Regions from separate parts of the Homo sapiens genome. Here regions 1, 2, 4 and 5 are each linked to region 3. Evidence: promoter capture Hi-C in 16 types of primary human blood cells and fetal thymus (Javierre and others, 2016). All regions are on one chromosome and are shown on one strand. The core of a region is centred on a gene start or on the middle of the fragment in contact, and the rest is flanking DNA. Distances in the headings are between cores, read along the strand shown.

What was found. The method cuts DNA at HindIII sites, captures the fragments that hold promoters and counts their contacts. A CHiCAGO score of 5 or more calls a contact.
Region 1: a contact is called between a fragment that was not itself captured here and the fragment with the promoter of AMACR in region 3, in 2 of 17 cell types (activated CD4 T cells and naive CD8 T cells). The highest score is 6.8, in activated CD4 T cells.
Region 2: a contact is called between a fragment that was not itself captured here and the fragment with the promoter of AMACR in region 3, in 2 of 17 cell types (total CD8 T cells and total B cells). The highest score is 5.5, in total CD8 T cells.
Region 4: a fragment that was not itself captured here is called in contact with the fragment with the promoter of AMACR in region 3 in 1 of 17 cell types (erythroblasts); the score reaches 5.7 in erythroblasts.
Region 5: a fragment that was not itself captured here is called in contact with the fragment with the promoter of AMACR in region 3 in 6 of 17 cell types (total CD4 T cells, naive CD8 T cells, activated CD4 T cells and 3 more); the score reaches 8.4 in total CD4 T cells.

The regions. Positions count from the first base shown.
Region 1 is chr5:34,906,239-34,908,958 of GRCh38, reverse strand. It overlaps RAD1 (RAD1 checkpoint DNA exonuclease), which reads left to right. Exons shown (of 6, transcript NM_002853.4): 6 at 11-2,720. The coding sequence ends at 194. It also overlaps a transcript of TTC23L not described here. Among named protein-coding and RNA genes, the nearest start is that of RAD1, 7.9 kb to the left of the region's middle. The HindIII fragment of the contact is 479 bases long and covers 1,011-1,489 here.
Region 2 is chr5:34,941,293-34,943,992 of GRCh38, reverse strand. The region is part of intron 7 of DNAJC21 (DnaJ heat shock protein family (Hsp40) member C21); the gene reads right to left. Among named protein-coding and RNA genes, the nearest start is that of DNAJC21, 13 kb to the right of the region's middle. The HindIII fragment of the contact is 3,892 bases long and covers 1-2,700 here.
Region 3 is chr5:34,006,749-34,009,448 of GRCh38, reverse strand. It overlaps AMACR (alpha-methylacyl-CoA racemase), which reads left to right and starts at 1,399. Exons shown (of 5, transcript NM_014324.6): 1 at 1,399-1,676. The coding sequence starts at 1,430. The region is part of intron 6 of C1QTNF3-AMACR (C1QTNF3-AMACR readthrough (NMD candidate)); the gene reads left to right. RefSeq lists a silencer at 1,183-1,262. The HindIII fragment of the contact is 12,530 bases long and covers 1-2,700 here.
Region 4 is chr5:33,462,060-33,464,759 of GRCh38, reverse strand. It overlaps TARS1 (threonyl-tRNA synthetase 1), which reads right to left. Exons shown (of 19, transcript NM_152295.5): 16 at 2,557-2,661; 17 at 935-1,007. Among named protein-coding and RNA genes, the nearest start is that of TARS1, 22 kb to the right of the region's middle. The HindIII fragment of the contact is 3,857 bases long and covers 1-2,700 here.
Region 5 is chr5:34,924,799-34,927,498 of GRCh38, reverse strand. BRIX1 (biogenesis of ribosomes BRX1) reads right to left here. Exons shown (of 10, transcript NM_018321.4): 9 at 2,524-2,652; 10 at 1,503-2,273. The coding sequence ends at 2,004. LOC124900961 (a long non-coding RNA gene) reads left to right here. Exons shown (of 2, transcript XR_007058731.1): 2 at 1-1,987. It also overlaps a transcript of TTC23L not described here. Among named protein-coding and RNA genes, the nearest start is that of DNAJC21, 3.4 kb to the left of the region's middle. The HindIII fragment of the contact is 4,450 bases long and covers 1-2,700 here.

The DNA.
Region 1 (2,720 bases), core at 1-2,500, 900 kb before region 3:
TCTTCTACAGATACAAGATTTCCTTACTGAAACCCTCTACAAAGGCATTAGTCCTATCTTGTAAGGTATCTATTCGGACAGATAACAGAGGCTTCCTTTCATTACAGTATATGATTAGAAATGAAGATGGACAAATATGTTTTGTGGAATATTACTGCTGCCCTGATGAAGAAGTTCCTGAATCTGAGTCTTGAGTATGACAATTCACTGATATTTATGTGTACATTTATGATAGATGAAGTTCTTATTCTGAGTACAGTACTCTTTGTCATTTCATATTGGATTTTCTATAGAGAAGAAGCACAATGGGGAAGATAGGAGCAAGGTCATGTACCCTAATAGTTACTATGTTTTGTAAATCCATTTTGTAGAGGGCATGTAAATAAATGTTTTCCTGTAGTCATAGATTATTCAGGACTGTCCTTTAGTTCTGTCTTTTGAACTCATGGGAATAATTGTGAGTCAGCGTAACATTTCAAGAGTCTAAAGGTGGCCGGGTGTGGTGGCTTTAATCCCAGCACTTTGGGAAGCCGAGGTGGGCGGATCACCTGAGGTCAGGAGTTCGAGACCAGCCTGACCAACGTGGAGAAACCCCATCTCTACTAAAAATACAAAAAATTAGCCGGACGTGGTGGCACATGCCTGTAATGCCAGCTACTCGGGAGGCTGAGGCAGGAGAATTGCTTGAACCCGGGAGGCGGAGGTTGTGGTGAGCTGAGATGACGCCATTGCACTCCAGCCTAGGCAATAAGAGCAAAACTCTGCCTCAAAAAAAAAAAAAAAAAAAGTCTAAAGGCTTAAAGTTTGATGCAGCTACCTGAAATGATCTTTTATTTATTTATTATTAGAAAAAGCAAAGGCATATGGGCATTGCTTATTAGTTTGAATTCTAGAGACTAGATCTTAAAGTAGTGGTTCTCAAAGTGTTGTGCCCGCACCAACATCAGAATGGCCTGCAAACTTGTAGCAAACTCTGGGGAGGAGGCCAGCATTCTGTATTTTAACAAGCTTCCCTCAGGAGATTCTGATGCCTGCTAAATTTTGGGAACCACTGTTTTAAAGGAAACTTTTTTTTTCTTTAATAGCATTTAATTGTATGAGATGATTGCTTTTACATGTGATTTCCTTGCAAATGTTCTGAAGTTGAGGCATCACCAAACAAGTCTGAACAATTCTTTATGTGATTTATTTTTAAAGTAGACCTTTTGAAGAGATCTATGAATGGGATATAAAGCAATTTTCAGTGTTACAGGTTTTCTTCTTCTTCTCAAAACTGTTTGCTGTAAGTAACTGCAATCAGTACTTACTACTTTCCATTTGCTTATGAGTTTCTTGACAAATCAAGGTGTAGAAAACCAGTTATTAAGTGATTTTGTACTTTCCTGGTAGTTGTCACTAAAATAATTTTTGTGGCATATAAATATATTTAATAAAATGCAAAAATTATCTTCCTGTCTAGTAGAAAAAATTACATGAGTAAAGTGAAGCTTCTGTCTTTGTTACTGTACCAGGTGACAACAGCTGAGTGTCCCTCCATGGACAGTCACTATTGGCCTTTTGAGTGAGACAGTTCTTTAGGATAAAAACCTGTCATCCCATTGCAGGATTCATTTAGCCTTTCTGGCCCTTACCCACTGATGCTAGTCATTGTGACCACCCCACCTCCCCCAAATAAAAGTGTGCCAAACTATTCATTGTTGAGAACCATTCAATTGTATTCACCAAAATTGGAGGATATATTGGAATGCCCTACCTTAATATAGGTCACATAGCATTAGAGAAAATTGGTTTGGAGAGTATTACAGCAAAGTGTGCTGCAAGGAGGCTACTCCAGCACAATGGCAGGCACTGCTTCCCAGGCATATGGACAATTCTGGGAGGTGGCCAGGGTCAGCACCTGATAACTAGTAAGTGTCTCAATCTCAGCATACAAAATTTAGCAGTGACTACAAAAGAAGTTGGAATTTTCTAAAATGTTTGTATTCAAGAAGGAAACAAATGAATTTACTAAATGTTGTCAGAGTATTTTTTGTTTAGATAACCACCAAGAACAGAACAAACCTAAAAGATACTTGGGAAAATATCTAATCAGTCAACATTCTAAGGACTGTTAAATGTGAAATAGCATAGTTATTTTTTGTCTTTTGTTACTAGTGTGAACAAAGAACGGCGCCTAACATATAATGGGCATTTAGTAACTCTGTTAGATGAAAGACTCTCCAATTTCAGATTTTCTTTTAGCATCTTATTAGTCACTACTTAATTCTGATGATTTAGCTCTAAATTTATTTTGATCTCAGTTTTTTTATTTTTATTTTTGGAGACAAGATCTTGCTCTGTTGCCCAGGCTGGAGTACAGTTGTAGGATTACAGTTCACTCCAGCCTCAATCTCCTAGGCTCAAGCAATCCTCCCATCTCAGCTTCCCAAATAGCTACGACTACAGGTGCATGCCTCCATGCCCTGCTAATTTTTGTATTTTTTGTAGAGATGGGGTTTTACTATGTTCCCTAGGCTAATCTTGAACTCCTGAGCTCAAGCAATCCACCCGCCTCGGCCTCCCAAAGGGCTGGGATTACAGGCGTGAGCTATCATGCCTGGCCTAATGTATTTTTTAAAAGTTGAATCTAAAAAGAATTTAAAACAAATATAAATCAGCTCAGTAAGGATGGATATTTTTGTACATTTAAAACTATTATTTTAGGCCGGGAGTGGTGGCTC
Region 2 (2,700 bases), core at 201-2,700, 930 kb before region 3:
AAGCTGCCCTGGAGATAATGGAAGATCCTGTGTCTGAAAGTAAGTCCTCCAAAAAAGTTATAAGCACATGTCAAAAGGACACAAGGGTGGTTTGAAGGAATGCTCACTAACCAATTCTGGAAAAATTTGAGCATGAAAAGGTCAGTAATGAATTATAAAACACTGAAAAAAAGAAATAAATTCAAACTGATAATAGATAAATGGATAAAAGGGAAGGCTCCTGTTTACAGCAGAAGGCCAAGTGCTAACTGATAAAAACTTGAGGGGGTACTGGCACTGGAAAAGCATCATTCTGCAACCATCATAAAAAAGACTGACGCAAGCTAAAACCATCAACAGATGCTAAAGCTATGAGGAAAACTTTTATGAGAAGCAAGATATCTGCATAGTTTTAAAGTGTCTCCTCACAGATTAAACATGTTACAAGGGAAAACCTGTTGCAAGGGAAAAAATACTAACTCTATAGTAAAATTAGTAGTATAGTAGTAAAATTAGATGACACCTTGATTGGGTGATGAAAATTATCACGACAAATGAGGGGTAGAAGGACTTTACGTGTCTCCAGCTATGAATCCCTGAGAGCACAACATGCTTGTGCGGCGTCCCTCCTGGGGCTGCATAACCTGAATCTAATCATGAGGAAATGCACAAAGACAAAATGAGAAGAATTCTATGAAAAAAGTGAAAACAGTGTACTTCTAAAATGTAAACAGCATAAAAGACAACACAAGCTGTTCCAGATTATGTTCTTAGACTGCATTCTGTATTGGAGAAAAATTCTATATTAATAAATAATTGATTGGCAAAATTGGAATGCAGGTAGTAAATTAGATAAAAATACCATATCAATGTTAATAATTTCTTTTATTTGGTCACTGTAGCATGGTTACATAAGAGAATAACCTTACTTTTTTTTTTTATTTTGAGACGGAGTTTTGCTCTTATTGCCCAGGCTGGAGTGCAATGGCACGATCTTGGCTCACCACAACCTCCGCCTCCTGAGTTCAAGCGATTCTCCTGCCTCAGCCTCCTGAGTAGCTGGGATTACAGGTATGCGTCACCACGCCCAGCTAATTTTGTAGTTTTAGTAGAGACGGGGTTTCTCCATGTTGGTCAGGCTGGTCTCAAACTCCCAACCTCAGGTGATCTGTCCACCTCAACCTCCCAAAGTGCTGGGATTACAGGCGTGAGCCACTGCGCCCAGCGAGAATAACCTTATTCTTAAGATATAGTGAAGTATTTAGAGGTAAAGGAACACTATATATGTAAGTTACTTTCAAATTATTCAGAAAAATACTGTGTGTGTGTTGAGCGTGTAGAGAGAAAGAGGACATGCAAATTGTGCAAAACGTTAGTAACAGGTCAATCAGACACACTATATTCTCTTCTTGCAATTTACCTTTAAGTGTGTCATTTCCAAATAAAAAAAAATTTTTAATCTCCTTCATTGTTGACCTTTTTCTTGCTTGTTTCTAATTTTTCTGCCTCTTTCCACTTCCCCTAGTACTCTGTCATTTCTCCCTGAGGTCATATGGTAATACCATTTATGACTCTCACAGCGCCATTCTCATCCTTTGGCCTCCTTTCTCTCTGATTGCCCATTTTGCTTTTTTTCCCTTGCTGATTCTACTCCCATTTTCTCCCGTGTTGTTTCCTCCCTCCTTTATAATAATGGTATCCGTTTTAATACTTCTTTCTTCATCATTGTTCCCCTAAGATAAAGTTCTTCCACTTCAGCAAAGATACTCTGGGCCAGACAAGTTTAAAGCCCCTATATTGGCAGCATCAGCCTGCATGGGACAATGATGGTGGGAAGTGAGTCTGACACCAATGATGGAGGGAGATGATTAGACACGGTCTAGACTTTTTGCCCATGTGACTATGTCTTCTTTGCCAAAACAAGCAATGCTTCTGGAGACAGTGCATGTGTTTTAAAAGCAGCTATAGGAATACTGGGATGAGTGACAATCAGTACAACAGGTTTAATGGCAGGTACAAATACCTCTTTCTACCCTGCTGGAAAGGAATCCCCCGAGACAGTATGTGGGGCTAGTTATCAACTGCTACAAGCACATTGTTTTTAGAACTTTCAAAATGTTACACTTCACCTCAAAAAAAAACACAAGGGCCAGGCGCTGTGGCTCACGCCTGTAATCCCAACACTTTGGGAGGCCGAGGTGGGTGGATCGCCTGAGGCCAGGAGTTTGAGACCAGCCTGACCAACATGGTGAGACCCTGTCTCTACTAAAAATACAAAAATTAGCTGGGTGCGGTGACCTGCATCTGTAGTCCCAGCTACTCGGGAGCTTGAGGCAGGAGAATCGCTTGAATCCAGGAGGTGGAGGTTGCAGTGAGCTGAGATCGTGCCACTGCACTCCAGCCGGGGCAACAGAGTGAGACTCTGTCTCCAAAAAAAAAAAAAAAAAAAAAAAGAAAACACAAGTTCAGAGATACTAAACTTACTCCTTTTAACTGGATGCAGTGGCTCACGCTTGCAATCCTAGCACTTTGAAAGGCTGAGGCAGGTGGAACACTTGAATCCAGGAGTTCAAGACCAACCTGGACAACATGGCAAAACCCCATCTCCAAAGAAAATATTTAGGTTGGTGCAAAAGTAACTGCAGTTTTTTAGCTGGCCATGATGGCAGGTTCCTGTAGCCCTAGCTACTTGGGAGGCTGACATGGGAGGATCATCTGAGT
Region 3 (2,700 bases), core at 150-2,649:
ATAGTTTTGGGTTGTATGTCTTAAGTTTTTTAATCCATTCTGAGTTGATTTTTGTGTATGGTGAGGGATAGGGGTCTAGTTTCATTCTTCTGCATATGGATTTCCAGTTTTTCCAGCACTACTTATTGAATAGAATGTCCTTAATATATGTTCTTGGTGTTTTTATTGATAATCAGCTGGCTGTAAATATATGGATTTATTTTGGGGTTCTTTATTCTGTTCCATTGGTCTTTGTGTCTATTTTATGCCAATAGAATGCTGTTTTGGTTACTACACCTTGGTAGTATAATTTGAATTCTGGTAGTGTGTTGCTTCCTGCTTTGTTCTTTTTGTTCAGTGTTGCTTTGGCTATTCAGGACCTTTTGTGGTTTTATACAATTTTTTTTTCTATTTCTATGAAGAGAAAGCCACAGAGTCCTAAAATAATTCTAAAACTCATCATGACTTTCTTGCCTAAAAGATCTTGATTTCAATCGTGCCTAGTTTTGCTTTAATCACTTGCTTGAGAAATACATAAATCCCCACTTAAGATTAGTGCAGGCATATCTCTGGCACCCATTTCTGGTTCTATTAAAATTCCTAGAGATGTCAAAAATTACATTAGGCCACCTGACAGGCTATACCTAGAAGAGAAAAAATGATTTGTAAAAGCAGTGGGGCTATTTGCGATTGCTTTTTTTTTTTCTTAAATATCACCTATTAGGTTGAAAACCTGAAATTGCAGCTTTCTGTAGAAATGGCGGAAGACAAACTAACATTTTTAAAGCGCTCTCATTTAGCTCTGATGAGTACTACACCCCTGATATTCTTCTGATACTAAAATAATTTTCCTAGTGTAGTCTAAACTTTTTTAAAAAGACATGTAATCCGCGGAGTTTGTAACTCAAAACGAGTGCATCTAGGAGGTATCGCAAGCCGTTTCTGGATTAAATTCCCAGCTAGCTAGCTAGCTAAGCAGGGGCGGTGAAGAAGACAATCTGCAGCCTAGGGAAGAAAACGCTTTCGCATTGTTCTTACGTGTTTACGTTATTTTATTTCCCTAGAGCAAGGCAGGAGTAGGGACTCGAATGGTACAGTTGGGCTGGGGATCGCCCTGGTACAATAAAAGCGTCCAGAGAGGACGGTAACAGGCAGGAGCTCCAAAGGTCAGTCCCTGCAATTTAAGACTCAGGAATTTAGGTTGCACAAAAAGGAAAGCAACCTACTGCATTTGGCACTGGCGGTCCCGGGAGGCCGGGGGTGGGGAAGCGCCCAGTGCGCAGACTCCGCGGGCTTGCGCAGGCCCGCAAAAGAGGGACGGGGGTGGTGCCTTTGGGGCGCGGCGCCGCGGCTGGGGGCGTGGCGCCGGGGATTGGGAGGGCTTCTTGCAGGCTGCTGGGCTGGGGCTAAGGGCTGCTCAGTTTCCTTCAGCGGGGCACTGGGAAGCGCCATGGCACTGCAGGGCATCTCGGTCGTGGAGCTGTCCGGCCTGGCCCCGGGCCCGTTCTGTGCTATGGTCCTGGCTGACTTCGGGGCGCGTGTGGTACGCGTGGACCGGCCCGGCTCCCGCTACGACGTGAGCCGCTTGGGCCGGGGCAAGCGCTCGCTAGTGCTGGACCTGAAGCAGCCGCGGGGAGCCGCCGTGCTGCGGCGTCTGTGCAAGCGGTCGGATGTGCTGCTGGAGCCCTTCCGCCGCGGTGAGCCCGGGCCCCGCGGGCTGCTCTCGGGAAGTTCCCGCGGAGGGGAGGGGCCTGGCCGTTCGATCGAGGCTGCACCCGCCACACCTTTGCCCTGTTGCCGCAAGAACCCTTGTCGGCCCCAGCCTTCCAGATTTTTGCCTCCTAGGGTATTGTTAGTGATCATTCTTCCCAAACTGGATTGTCCAAAACTTGGGTTCTGAGATACTGCTGTTGCCCGGTTTCTCCTTTTGCCTCTCTGACTCCTTCCCAAATTCCTCCTTTTTTTTCTAAGAAACGTTCCGTATTTGCCTTTCTTAATTAATTGAGGGTCTTGAACCCTGTGAGAATCTAATGAAAGCCATAGGATTCCCTTCCTGGAAAACTGCATATAGGCGGTCATTCGGCTACCGTTTTGGAGTGCTGTACCCTCAAGCCATCCACGGGCCCAGGCTAACGCTCCTCCCTGCCTGAAATGCTGGCGTTCTAAGTCTCAGCATCTGCTCCCTGAAGCCCAGTTACCCATTCCCATCATTTTCACCTTTTTGTAGACTTCCCCCTTTCAGAGCGGCAGACGCTGGCATACACAGGTCCTGGGCATCGCCGTCAAGGCTGCCCGCCAGGCAGCTTCCACAAATCCCAAAATGAGCCTTTCCTTCTTCCTTCTAAAACAGCATCTCCACCTTCTGTATTATTTATTTCAGTGAATGCCTGAATCTCAAACTTGTACTTCATCATGGACTCCAGTCTTCCTTTCACATCCAATTTCAATGATCATCAATACAGTCATTTTGCTCCTTAGCCCACTCGGACTATTTCTCTCCATACCTGCTGCAACTGCCTTGACACTGGTGTGACAGCCTTTTAAAAACTGGTGTTTGGGGCTGGTATCACTCCAGTGGATTCTCAGACAGCTGCCAGAATAACTTTGTTCAAGTAGAAATCCAAAGCATTGCCTGGTCTATAGTGGGAAATCGGTAAATGGTGAATGAATGAATGCCTACGGCACAGCCGGCTTATTTAAATGCGTTAACTCATTTAACCC
Region 4 (2,700 bases), core at 79-2,578, 540 kb after region 3:
TGTTGCTCAGGCTGGAATGCAGTGGCTACTCACAAGCACAATCATCACACCCTGAACCCTCAAAGATCCTCCTGCCTCAAGCTCCTAAGTAGCTGGGACTACAGGTATGCATCTCCATGCTCAAGTTCATTTATTTCTTAAGGGTAATTAAGAACTGAGTGTGGTTTATTCTGATGGTCTGAAGACATGATGGTTTTGATGTTACAGTATTGTTCACTCATCAACTTTTAATAATTTGAAATTCCTTAGTATGGAATTTTCACTATGGCAGAACAATGCTTTAAAGTGAAGTTATGAATGGCTATACATTTGTTGGTAAGTTAGTTTTTTTGGTAGAGAGGCAAGACATTGGTCTGCTATACTATTAACCTGAAAAAATTTCAACTACCTGAAGAAATTTACATTAAAATGAAGCAAAATTACTCACTGAGTCAAAGAGCAGCCTAAACTGTATTTTGAACGGGAATTTACCTACCATACTGAAGTACCTGATATCTGCTAATCTGGTTTTTTAAAATACTAAATACTAAAATATACAAGTGTAACTGGGTATGGTGGCTCCTGCCTGTAGTCACTGCTACTCGGGAGGCCAAGGTGGGAGGACTGCGTGAGCCCAGGAGTTTGAGGTTACAGTGAGCCATGACTGTACTACTGCACTCCAGTTGGGGCAAGAGAAAGATCCCATCTCTTAAAACAAATACAATAAAATATACAAGTGTACATAAAACACTATCCAAATATGTCTTCTGATTATGGAATCATGGAGAAAAGCATTAAAGAAGTAATATAATCTATTCAGGCTTAACAAAGATTAAAAATAGTAACATTTCTCTTTATCACAACAGCTCGATTCACCAAGAATACAGGGCTTATGTGATTTGAAAAGCTGAACAACAGATGTTAAATTGAAAGAAAATTCATATCTAAGGCTTACCTTTTGGGCATATTCATCACAGGTTGGTCCCACTGGAACTACCATTACCTGGCGAGGGGACAGCCAAAAGGGCCTTTGGAAGAGAATAAAAATATTCAGTGTAGATGTGGGCATATTCACTAAACAGGGACAGCATATTTCTTACTCTACTCTTCAGTATCTTTTCCTGGAACATGTAACGACTACTTTTAAAACTTGGCTTTAAAAAACCCCAAAATGAAAAGACCTATCCAATAAAGATTAAGGCGAGGAGATGCAGGAGAAGAAAACTAACCCTACGTAAGGAAAGCCTGTAACTACAATTTGTCTTGCTAAGTAGATAGCAAAGCAAATTGAGGATAGGACTAGGCCTCACACTTTAATACATCACAAAACACTGTGTATTGGCTGTGAGAGGAGGTAACAAATGATTTAATAACTGCATGTAGTGATTAATTGTTCATTTTATTACTTATTCTTCACGGGGACACAGTGCCCTCAGTTTACTCAACATCCATTTTGTATCATTCAGCAAATTGTAATTGATAATAACTGGTTATGGCACTTGGTAAAAATCAGAGTTTTCACTACTTATTAAAAAATAAGCCCATCCAATTCTCCCTTTGAAGCAATACAAGTGTCAAATGCTTCTGATGCTGCAAACATCAGGCTAATGTTTTTCTCCATCATTCCTCTATTTTCAGTTGTTCTGTTGTATCAGGCAAAAGGCTAAAGTAGGCACTAAATTCTACCCTAATCATGGACTTTTCCCCACCTAAAACAGGTTTAGCAGAGCAATTAGCTGAGGACTCCCTTAATTCTTGAAATACCTTGCAGAGAATGTGTCTCACATTTTATCTGACTTTGAGAAATCTAGAGATTATCTTGTATCATTGATCAGAATGAGAAACTGTCCTAATTTCTGAAGTAACCAAGTTCAAATAAAACTGAAATGACAGTAATGTGTAAGATTAAACCAATGTACGTCATTTTACAAAAGTTTTAAATCAATATGATTAATATGGAAGGCTCTACACACGGGTGCTTTTATAACCCTGTGCTGCTTTCAAATGCACTGTGGGTCCAGAAAAAACTGCTTAAGAATTAAGATGAAAGTTATGTGGCCATGTATCTTGGAAACAAAAACTTACTTAACCTCACAGAAATGAATCACAAATGTTGATCGGTTTGGCATCTGTTTTAAAAAATGCTTGGCTTTTAAAACATGTCCAAATACCTGCTTGTTATGATTAGCAAGGCTGAACGAAGAAAGCCATAAGCCTCCTCATTTATCTATGTAAAACCAGCAAAGCCATCTAAATCCCAAAACAAAGTTACTAGAAAAGCATCCAAAACAGTAAGTATACTTCTTACAGAATACTAATTCCTAATTAGAAAGTATTACACAACATCCAAACAAATCAAGTTCTGGAATTAAAGTAATTACTATTAGCAATTGTTCTTAATGCTAAAAAGTTTGTGTTTAGATTGTGATTCCTTATTTTTTAATGAACACTTGTCGTTAGTTAGAAGCAACCGATTGGAATCATTCTCCCTTTCCATCTGATAATTAAATCGAAAAGTAGACATTTCTTGTAGCCAATTTATACTAATCAGAAAAAAAAGACAGTGACAAAAATTACCATTTGCCCCCATAGTTTTCTGTGAGGATAGCAATCATTCTTTCCACTGATCCCAAGATGGCTCGATGAACAATCACTGGCCTTTTCTTATCATCACCATCATGGCTATAAAGAAAAAAAAAATTGTTTTGTCTTATTATATAT
Region 5 (2,700 bases), core at 1-2,500, 920 kb before region 3:
TGTTCCTGAGATGTGGGTGTTTAAAAACAAATTCTGAATACGGCTGTCTTATTTTTATCCAAGACTATATTCAACTGCCTAAATAAAATAACGGCCACTTTGGTTTTTTTCCATTTAACTAGATTTGGCCCTAGTCACATACAAGTATTTCAAGTGATCCTCTCACCTGAATTACCTGCATAATTTAGATGACTTCAAGATTTCAAGTTTCCTAATTTAGACTATTTCAAGGCCAATTAAGCACTCAGGAAGGCCGTTCTTAGCAAAAAATTTAAGGAAAAAAAAACCATCAATATTGATCATTCTGCCTAAATACTTAAAATAATAAAGACATAAAATTAAAATGTAAGTGAACTAGGAAAGATCTCTATAATAAACTTACTATATAAAAGCACTTATAGAATCAGTAAAAGACAATCCTACCACAGAAAAACAAACATGATTAGTCCAGTCAAAAAGGATAAACCAGTAACTAAAAAAAAAAAAAGGTGGTTTTTTTTTTTTAACCTATTGAATTGACAGATTCTTTCATGCATAGTGAAACTGGTAAGGGGACAAGGAAATGAACCCTCTAATAGCCTCTAGTGAGGTTATGGTGGTGGAGGGAACAAGCAAAAAGCCTAGAGTTCATAATCTTTAACCTAAGTTGCACTTCTAGGAAACCAAGTGTTGTGTAAAAAGACATGTAACACATCTATATAAGTATTCACTACAAGCATCGATACCAGCAAAAAAAAGAGGAAAAACTGAAAATACTGATTACATAGCTATGGTACACAGAATACTACAGTTAACAGTTAGCAAGTAAACATGTGGAACAAACACATAGAAAAACAATCAGTGTGAAGTCAAAAAAGCAGGTGATGAAACAGCATGTGTCATTTCATTAGATATATATTTTATTGTATTTCTATCTGTCCATGTCAGCAGCCACCTACCTCCATGGTCACTGGTACTCAGAATCTTTTCTTTCCGTTACTAATTTACCCATAAGATCTTAAGCCTAGTGCCCCCTTACACAATAGGCAGTTTCTCTTTCATGTGGGGAAAAATTCAAATGTTCTGGTATCCCCTTTAACAACTGTCCTATTTTTCTCTCCTTTTACTATTAGTTTTCTAAATAAGTAATCTATACACACTGCTTCTAAAATAAGTATGTCATTTGGCCGGGCATGGTGGCTCATGCCTGTAATCCAAGCACTTTGGGAGGCCGAGGTGGGCAGATCACCTGAGGTCAGGAGTTCGAGACCAGCCTGACCAACATGGAGAAACCCCAACTCTACTAAAAATACAAATTAGTTGGGCGTGGTGGCACATGCGTGTAATCCCAGCTACTCGGGAGGCTGAGGCAGGAGAATCACTTGAACCAGGGAGGTGGAGGTTGCGGTGAACCGAGATCGCGCCATTGCACTCCAGCCTGGGCAACAAGAGCGAAACTCCGTCTCACAAATAAAATATAATAAAATAAAAAATTTACAAAGTGCTTTCAACACAGCCATTAATGCATTTGATTCTCAAAACCTCAACATTTTAATATACTCTTTTTTGAAGTGACAGATCAGGGGTTGGTTCTTCCATGGCTTCATTAACTGATGACTGAGTAAACTTCAGTGAGATGCCTTCCTTTCTACCAGTCTACTCCTACTTTACCATCCACAACCGATGCTCTTGAAGTGTTGAATGCTTTTACAAATAATATGACCTAATAAATGTCTGAATTTCAGCTTTGCTAAACCAAAAATTCCAACCCAAGAGAACAGGCTACATTAAGTGTGCTACATTTTTAGCAACACAAACTTCAAAAAGAAATCAGAAATTAACTGATGAATTCTGGTGATATTTTATTTAGAAAAAGATAATCACTGATTTTAAGATCTTAATTTTTCTTTCTTGTAAATGCTACACTAATTAGACGTAAGATAGTATTAGATAATAAAAGTATTTACACATTGAATACAAAATAAATATAAAGTAACTGAAAAACAAATCAGGTTTCCATTGACTTATTTTGTTTTCCCACTGTCCATCCTCTGTTTCATTTTTCTTTGCCTTTTGTAAATCCGTTTCTTTCTTGCTTTCAAATCAACTTTTGGCTCTGGTTTTACCCACTGTATTTCTATTGGTTTCTCCTCAGCTGGTGTTACAAAAACATCTGCAGTGGGATCATGTGGAAGAAGAGTCTTCGGCTCTTTCTTTCTCAGTTTTTGCACATCTTTCACTTGCTGTTTCTCTCTGTATTTTGCAGCTGTGATGGATCTTATGACACGCCGATGCTAAAAAAAAAAAAAAAAGATTAGATGCTTTTGAAATAAAAATAAACATTTTATATAAGGCAAAGACTTTCAGTTATGAACCATATATCCTTTCAGCCAGTGTCATGAAAAAAGGGAGTAATTTCCAAGTTTCTATGCAGCAAAAACCAAATTCAGTTTCACAGGTAATAAAACAGCAATTACTTCACAGAATCATTTTGGCCAAAGGGTTCTGGTACATTGAAGACTACTGAATGACACAACCGCTTACCATGTTTGGTGACTGGTAGTGAGGATTTTCATATAAAGTTGGTCCTCCAAAACTTCCCTGGAAAATCTTTATGAGATTTAAGACAAAACGAGGTCCTATTTCTACAAGAGCAGCATCTTCTTCTATGATCTTTAATAAAAAGGAAACATTTCATTTTGGTTTGGTTACGTTATTCCC